Linked DNA regions of Homo sapiens: regions 1 and 3 are each linked to region 2. The links are contacts of gene promoters, found by promoter capture Hi-C in blood cells and fetal thymus (Javierre and others, 2016). All regions are on one chromosome and are shown on one strand. Each heading gives the region's core, a stretch centred on a gene start or on the middle of the fragment in contact. The rest is flanking DNA. Distances are from core to core; before and after follow the strand shown.

Region 1 (2,700 bases), core at 24-2,523, 570 kb before region 2:
CAAAGTGTTAGGATTACAGACATGAGCCACTGCACCTGGCCTATAGTTTTTATTATGTGTTCTTTTTCTGTTTCACAGGTTATTTATAAGTACATTGCCTAGTTTCCAAATATATTTGGCTTTTCAAATATCTTTTTCTTTATTTTTGTTTGCTTATGAGTCTGAAGTTATTTTATATCTAAGATTTTTCTATCATGGGAAATATAAAACATATATAAAGCTAGAGAGAACAATACAATAATCATTCAGGTACTGATAAGCTTCAACACTGTTAACTCATGAACAGCTGTGTTTATTCTCACTTCTCCCATTGCCCCACCACCATTATTTTGAAGCAAATCTCAGATGTCATTTTTTCTTTAAATATTTCATTATGAACTTATAAAAATGACATTAAAAAATCACAATACCACATCAACCCAGAATAATTAATTGATGTCATGAAATATCTGATCAGTTTTCAAATTTTCCCCATTTTGTCATAATTTTTCTTTATAATTTGATTATTTTGGAGGAGGATCCAAATAAAATCCAAGCATTATTATTGGTTGATATGCCCCACACTTAAAAACCTGGCTTTTAGCAACACCAGCAAAATTATTCATTATGCTAAAACATACATACCTTGCATACTCAATATACCTCCCCATTCCTAGGTAAGCTTTGAAATTCAACTTTTCTCTCCTAGCTCCATAGGTTGTTAAAGAAGCAGCTTATCTTCTTGGTTCTTTCTTTTAGAATTGACACATATCCCCAGGAGAAAAGTGGTTGCAAAAGTCAGAGTAACCTTTGTAGGTTTTCTCCTTTTAAAGATATAAGACTGCAAGCCAAGTGCTGTGGCTCACTTCTGTAATCCCAGCACTTTGGGAGGCCAGGGTTGAAGATCACTTGAGCCCAGGAGTTTGAATCCAGCCTGGGTAATATAGGGAGACCCCATCTCTACAAAAAATTTAAAAAATTAACCAGACGTGGTGGTGCATACTTTTAGTTCCAGCTGCTAGGGAGCCTGAGGTAGGAGGATCGCCTGAACCCAGCTGGGTGACAGGCTGGGTGACAGTGAGGCTGCGTGACAAAGTAAGATCCTGTCTCAAAAAAAAAAAAAAAAGATATCAGACTTGTAAATCTTCACTGTCTTTGCTCTCTGATGTCTTCAAGTAATGCTTTAAAATATTTTGTTCATCTTTTATAGTTATCTTCAGTAGGAGATATATCTGAATTATCTAATCTGTCATTATTAGAAGGGAAAGTCCCCTTACCACTTAAATTTTGAACATTTTGAACACTAAACTTACTATATGTTTAGATAACATGACTGCAATATTTGGCTTTATTTCAAAGGTTCTGAAGCAAAAACACCTGGATGATTGCCTGCGACATGTATCTGTAAGAAGATTTGAATCATTTAATCTGTTTTCAGTAACAGAAGGCAAAGAAAGGGAAACTGAAGAGGAGGTTGGTGCATGGGTCCAATATACAAGCATCTTCTGTCCTGAATACAGTATCTCCTTAAGGTAACCATTATTCTAGTTAAGATTTTGTAAACACTAGATTTCTCTTGGATAAGAAAAACAATCTAATAAGAATCATCATTATTTATTCTATTGAGTTTACGGGCAATCTTTTTCAGAACTTAGGTTTTACAACTTGTTTTAGGAAATCCTGCTATTTTAACTGGGTCTTGCTGTATTATCAGACTAAAGGAAACAAGTTCTCACAAATATAGTGGCATTTGAAGATAAGGTGGTTGCAAATCAAAGGGTTCATTTAAACATTCTGTCATAACATTTGTTTATGACAAAAAGCCATGTTTGTTCTGAGGCAAAGAAGGGGCTGAAAGTGAAAACAGAATTTTTCCAAACTACCCTTCAAGTAATAATCTGAAAAATCAAGCTTTGGTATTTTTTCCATTTATTTATTTTTTTATTACTTTCAGAATAGAATCAATCTTAAGACTAAAGGAGAAAATTCAACTGAAAACACTGATATTGTAAGAAGCATATGGACTGTTCTGACTTTAAAAATCATTAGAAAAGAGACAAGAGAGTTACAGACTGCAATAACAAGATACCATTTTACTGAATTAATTTTCTCTCACAGTTATGTTCTAGCATGTTGCAATATTACTGTAGGTGTTTGATTTTATAAAATCTGCCTTTTCTGACAGTATTTCACATTTTGAAAGGGAGGGAGGAGCACATTTACAGTAACTGTAAGAAGAGCAAAAAACATTTTAAGTGTAAATGTGACTGAATAAGGTTTAGGTGAGGCTAGGAATAATTTTAAGAAAAAAATTTTCACAAAGGGTATCTTTTTATAGTATATGTTTCTCGAGCTATTTTAGTTTAGAATATCTAAGCTTTAAAACATAATAGCTAAAAATTGGGATTTGGATAAAAATTGACTAGGTTGGGCAGGAAAGAACAATTAGAATCTGGTTTTATAATACTATTTTACTGAAAATGCCGGCTGGGCGCAGTGGCTCATGCCTGTAATCCTAGCACTTCAGGAGGCCAAGGTGGGTGGATCACTTGACCCTAGGAGTTCAAGACCAGCCTGGGCAACATGGCAAAACCCCACCTTTACAAAAAATACAAAAATTAATTGGGCATGGTGGCATGTGCCTATGGTCTTAGCTACTCCAGAGGCTGAGGTGGAAAGATTGATTGAGCCCGGGAGGTTGAGGCTGCTGTGAGCTGTGCC
Region 2 (2,748 bases), core at 158-2,657:
CACCAAACCGAGTCCTGTCTAAATATACACAGTGCTCAGGGAAAGACGTCTCTGACCCCGACAAATCTGCGTAAATCACACTTCCATAGTTACAGAAGCCTCACAAAGGGAGGCCCGGCTCAAGATGCTGATTACAGCTTCTTAAAAGCAACATACCTAAGAATAAATACCCATGCCTGGCCTAGGGGCTGTGGTGGCCAGAGGCAGAGAGGGCCCTCTGTGTTCTATGGGCCTTTTGGCGTCTGTTTTAGGCTTTCGATGTTACTTTCCCTAGAGAAATTAGACAGTTTAAAAATAATAATGGTAATTATTATTATTTTACAATACGAGCAAACAAGCAATTTTCAGGCCTTATTCACTTCATCCGGGTGGCTGGCCTCCAAAGTTTGAGTGCCCTCTGGGGCTGGCAGGCAGGACCAGAGCTCCTTCTGTTGTGTGGTGAGGAGTGGGCATCTGTAGGACTTTTCTGGGTCCAGAGGGCTCTTGGGCTTCTCGGCTCCCGCAGCTCCTCCACCACTCCTCAGAGAGGCAGCTGAATTCTGGGAAGAAACAAAGAGTTGAGTTGCTTCTTAAGATGGAAAGAAGTGTACTGTTTGGACTGTTATTTTAAAATACAGGGTGGTGGGGGAAATCGAGGCTCCTTGGCCGGGGAGGGAGTAAAGAGAAGCCTAATTGATGAAGAGGGAGTTGAGGTGAATGCGGTCCATGGGCACCGATGGGGGAGGCAAGAGCGGCCTCCAGCACCCTGGGAATTGGGCTCAGGCTCCCTGGCGCCAGATACCCTCGGAATCCGGGATCCCCGGCTGGCGCCACGGCCCGCTGGGCCAAGGTCGGTGCTTGGTGGGCCCCATGATCTCATCTCTCCTTTCTTCCTTGCCACTATTAGTGCTCACATAGGCAGAAAGAGGCGGCCCGACGTGCAAACCATGTGCAAACCGCGCCCGCTGGGCTGGTCAGCCGTCTTTCCTTGCCTGCCGACCTGGACTATGTGGAGCCTGGGGGACCCTCTTGCCTCCCAACAAAATCCCCTCTCTAATTGCACATCCCATTCAACAACTCTGCCCAGGGCTTTTCGAATTTCTGGATCAACTTCTTTAGGAAAAAGGGAAGAAGAAGTCTCAGAGACAGCGGTAGAGAAAAGAGGAGAGAGAGGGAGAAGAGAGAAGAGAGGAGGGGGAGGTAGCGAGATTAAGAGTTGCAAAGATAAAAAAAATTCTCTTTATCCCCCCACTTCTCCCTCCTTCCCTGCTCTCCCCCTCCCCCCGCCCTCTGGCTAAGTGGTAAAACCGTCCTTACGTTCTCGGTATTGATTGGCAGGGCTGACAGTGATTGGCAGTGGTTGCCGTGGCAACGCCACAACGACACGCCACAGACCAATAGAAAAGCGAAACAAAATGTTTCAATGCTGCACTCACTGTGGATTTAGGGGAGATATTATGAGGCTGTTGTCATTAGGGCGATTGCGGTGGAATCGCTGAATCTTGACTCGGCGGTGGTTGGCTCTCCCTCTCCTCTCTCCCTCTCCCTCTCCCTCTCTGTCTCGGGTTCTCTCTCTGCGCGCGCGCACCGGGCCGCTCTCCTACCTCCCTCTCTATGTGGCTGCGCGGGTGTGTGTGTGTGTGGATGTGTGTGGGGTGTGGGTGTCCCTTACGCCCTTCCTCCTCTCCCTCCTCCTCCTGCTCCCCCCTCCTTTCCTTCTCCTCCTCCCCCCTCTCCTCTCCCTCCTCCTGGTCCTCATCGCCCCTCTCCTCCTCTTCCTCCCCTCTCTCTTCCTCTCCCTGAATTTTCTCCTCTCCTCTCAGGTCAGTCCATGGTATTCCGCTCCCCCCTAGACCTCTATTCCTCCCACTTCTTGTTGCCAAACTTCGCCGATTCTCACCACCGCTCCATACTTCTGGCGAGTAGCGGCGGCGGGAACGGTGCGGGAGGCGGCGGCGGCGCGGGAGGCGGCAGCGGCGGCGGGAACGGTGCGGGAGGCGGCGGTGCTGGCGGAGCAGGCGGCGGCGGCGGCGGCGGCTCCAGGGCCCCCCCGGAAGAGTTGTCCATGTTCCAGCTGCCCACCCTCAACTTCTCGCCGGAGCAGGTGGCCAGCGTCTGTGAGACGCTGGAGGAGACGGGCGACATCGAGCGGCTGGGCCGCTTCCTCTGGTCGCTGCCCGTGGCCCCCGGGGCGTGCGAGGCCATCAACAAACACGAGTCGATCCTGCGCGCGCGCGCCGTGGTCGCCTTCCACACGGGCAACTTCCGCGACCTCTACCACATCCTTGAGAACCACAAGTTCACCAAGGAGTCTCACGGCAAGCTGCAGGCCATGTGGCTCGAGGCGCACTACCAGGAGGCCGAGAAGCTGCGCGGCCGCCCACTCGGCCCGGTGGACAAGTACCGCGTGCGCAAGAAGTTCCCGCTGCCACGCACCATCTGGGACGGCGAGCAGAAGACGCATTGCTTCAAGGAGCGGACTCGGAGCCTGTTGCGGGAGTGGTACCTACAGGACCCCTACCCCAACCCCAGCAAGAAACGCGAACTGGCGCAGGCCACCGGCCTCACTCCCACACAAGTAGGCAACTGGTTTAAGAACCGGCGGCAGCGCGACCGCGCCGCGGCGGCCAAGAACAGGTTAGTGGCGGGGCCCGCGGCCTGGCTACAGCCTCAGAGGCCTGGGAAGGGGAGAGGGGTTGAGATGGGGCTAGCGGAGCGGCCGCTGAGAGCCAGGGAAGCCGTGACTCCTGGCCAGTCGGAGAAAGTTTC
Region 3 (2,700 bases), core at 73-2,572, 550 kb after region 2:
TAAAAATGCAGTTATTTAGTAAGATACCAAAAATCAACTGGGATATAATTACTCAACACTGACTGATACCTTTTTAATTCTTTACAAAAGTATATTAGAATTCTTCAGGCTCTACAAATATCTAGCATCTTCCCCTTTTCCTTCCTTCTGCCTATCAAAAATGAAGGTATTAAAAAGCCACTATGCCAAATGCCTAGCTCATCTCAAAGTTTTAAAAATAATTTATCTAAAAAACATTCTTCCAACTTGTCAGACTGAGAAACATATCGTGAGAGGTTAAATGACTTGCACTAGGTTTCTCAACGAGTAATACAAAGCACTAAAAACATGAACCAACATAAATCTTAATTATTTGCATATGAGATAACCTGTTCTGAAGTATCAAAAGAATAGCTGTTTGTATTTTAGGGATAGGAGACAAGGCCAAAAACTAAACTACCACGAACAGTGGGGGCTCTGAGATTTAATGCTTAAAGGGTAGAGCTTACTTCTAAGAAAATATCAAAGCAATTTTAAATTCTTTTATGTAATGATGAATTATCATTTCAAGGATTCTCAAATGAGCAATATCTAGTCATCTTAAAAACTTAGGTAAGGCCAGGCACGGTGGCACACACCTGTAATCCCAGCACTTTGGGAGGCCCAGGTGGGTGGATCACCTGAGGTCAGGAGTTCAAGACCAGCCTGACTAACATGGTGAATCCCAGTCTCTACTAAATACAAAAAAAAAATCAGCCAAGCGTGGTGGTACATGCCTGTAATCCCAGCTACTCAGGAGGCTGAGGCAGAATCGTTTGAATCTGGAAGGTGAAGGTTGTAGTGAGCCAAGATCGCGCCACTGCACTCCATCCTGGGCAACAAGAATGAAACTTCAACTCAAAAAAAAAAAAAAATAAAATAAATTAGGTAATCTAGTGATTAAGAGGACATACGGAAACAAGCAGAATCATGTCCCGTCAAAGACTTTCAAACTGCAGAACTCTTTGGATGGTAAATTGAAAATCAGATCAAAAATCACAAAAATGTACATTCTCTCTGAACTAGCTATTATATTTTTAGCAATACATGCAAATGAAATGTAAAAATTCAAAAAAATTAAACTGCACTATTTATGATAGCACAACTGTGACTGAAACAAAGTGGAAAAAAATGCCTATCATTACAGTGTTCATTTAATTAAGCTTTCATTAAGAATTATTATTGTAAAATATTTTTATCTCATGTAAAATATTTATGATAAATTATTAAGTTAAAACTGGGTAAAGAAAAAGCAGGCTTATGTAATATAATGTTAATAGTATTTAAACATGTATTATTACTTTAATTGTATTCTTGTTTAAGTTTTTCTGCAATAACCATGTAATACTCATATGTAATCAGAAAAGGTTTAAAAATGTAAGAACAATTATTAATTGGTCAGGGAATCATATCAGATAATGGCCAACTTTTTTTTTTTAATTTACCAAGCTTTCTTTTAAAGTTATTGTGAACTTAAATCTTGGTAAATACATCATTTGTTTGTAGAAGATCTCAAGCAATGACATTTTATGACATCATTATGATAACATAAAAGAAAGATAGCTAAGCAGAAAAGTCAAGAATAAGTTCTCAACTTTTACACACAGGCCATTTAAGAAGCAAATGAATGATTAAAAAAATCTTATAAGAAAATACAAATTATACATCCTTAAATTTCACTTGGTCCTTGCCCTCTTGAATTTTACTTGGCCTCCCAAGTTATCCTTCATGATCACTAAGGCATAACCAGCTCACTATCTACAATATAAAATATGTGAAGTGATGCAGCAGTATGCCAGGAAAGTAGCATGTATGAAAAAGTACTAAGGGCAAAATATGGTGAGGCAGAAAAAGAGAAAGAAAATACACAACCTCCTTACTTCAATACCAAAGGAGTTTACCTTTAGATACGTAACACTAGCACCATCTGGTGGAGGACAAGTTAGAAGCAATTCTTCAATTACCAGCGTTTTGTTTTTGTTTTTTTAAGTTTGTTATGTTTCAAAAAAGATGATCATTTTCCACAGAGAACAACTCTAGTAGTGGTACAGTTATCACACAGAGGATCCACACCAAGCCTGGGAGAAAATAAAAAGTCTACCAACCAGAGGATCTAAGTATACTCCAGGATGGACATCCTATCAAATCTTAGCTACAGAGCAGTCTTTCAAAAGAACAGAATTATCTTGGCTACTTCTCTTTTGGTGCCCCATACCACAGTGGATGAAAAGAACACTTTCCAACCACAAAATAAACCTAAAATGGACAGACCCGAATTACCAACTAAAAAGCAGAGCTTTAATTTGGATTTTGGGGTTCCAAACTTCACAGAGATGACAAACTCAATGGTACCTTCAAATGCCATCATGGGGAAAAGCAAATCAACAAACTGAAGGACAAAAAAGATGGAAAGTTTGTTTCCTATTTGTAGATTAAGTACCTCTACTGAGGTAGAAGAAATTTCAACAAAGAATGGCGTAAGCAGAAATTGTTTCCCCTTACCTTCCACAGTAAGCATCTCACTCTCTCTCTCTCTTCCCTCTCTCCCCGCATTCTGCTTTTCTCTTTCAAAATCCCTCTTTTATCTTTTTTCTCTACCTGTATCTGATACCAACATAAAGTTGTTGCCATACCATAAAGTATTTAATGGTACCACTAAGGAAACTAAAGAAAAAAACTGCC

The links. Contacts are between HindIII fragments. The CHiCAGO score rates a contact against its expected background, and 5 or more counts as called.
Region 1: a contact is called between a fragment that was not itself captured here and the fragment with the promoter of SIX3 in region 2, in 1 of 17 cell types (total B cells). The highest score is 5.4, in total B cells.
Region 3: a contact is called between a fragment that was not itself captured here and the fragment with the promoter of SIX3 in region 2, in 1 of 17 cell types (fetal thymus). The highest score is 5.3, in fetal thymus.

What each region holds. Positions count from the first base shown.
Region 1 is chr2:44,371,378-44,374,077 of GRCh38, forward strand. CAMKMT (calmodulin-lysine N-methyltransferase) reads left to right here. Exons shown (of 11, transcript NM_024766.5): 2 at 1,339-1,511. Among named protein-coding and RNA genes, the nearest start is that of CAMKMT, 11 kb to the left of the region's middle. The HindIII fragment of the contact is 1,229 bases long and covers 660-1,888 here.
Region 2 is chr2:44,940,295-44,943,042 of GRCh38, forward strand. SIX3 (SIX homeobox 3) reads left to right here and starts at 1,408. Exons shown (of 2, transcript NM_005413.4): 1 at 1,408-2,616. The coding sequence starts at 1,811. SIX3-AS1 (SIX3 antisense RNA 1) reads right to left here and starts at 1,584. Exons shown (of 2, transcript NR_103786.1): 1 at 1,416-1,584; 2 at 1-539. RefSeq lists enhancers at 1-73, 842-1,368, 2,451-2,748. The HindIII fragment of the contact is 26,724 bases long and covers 1-2,748 here.
Region 3 is chr2:45,492,934-45,495,633 of GRCh38, forward strand. The region is part of intron 14 of SRBD1 (S1 RNA binding domain 1); the gene reads right to left. Among named protein-coding and RNA genes, the nearest start is that of SRBD1, 120 kb to the right of the region's middle. The HindIII fragment of the contact is 286 bases long and covers 1,180-1,465 here.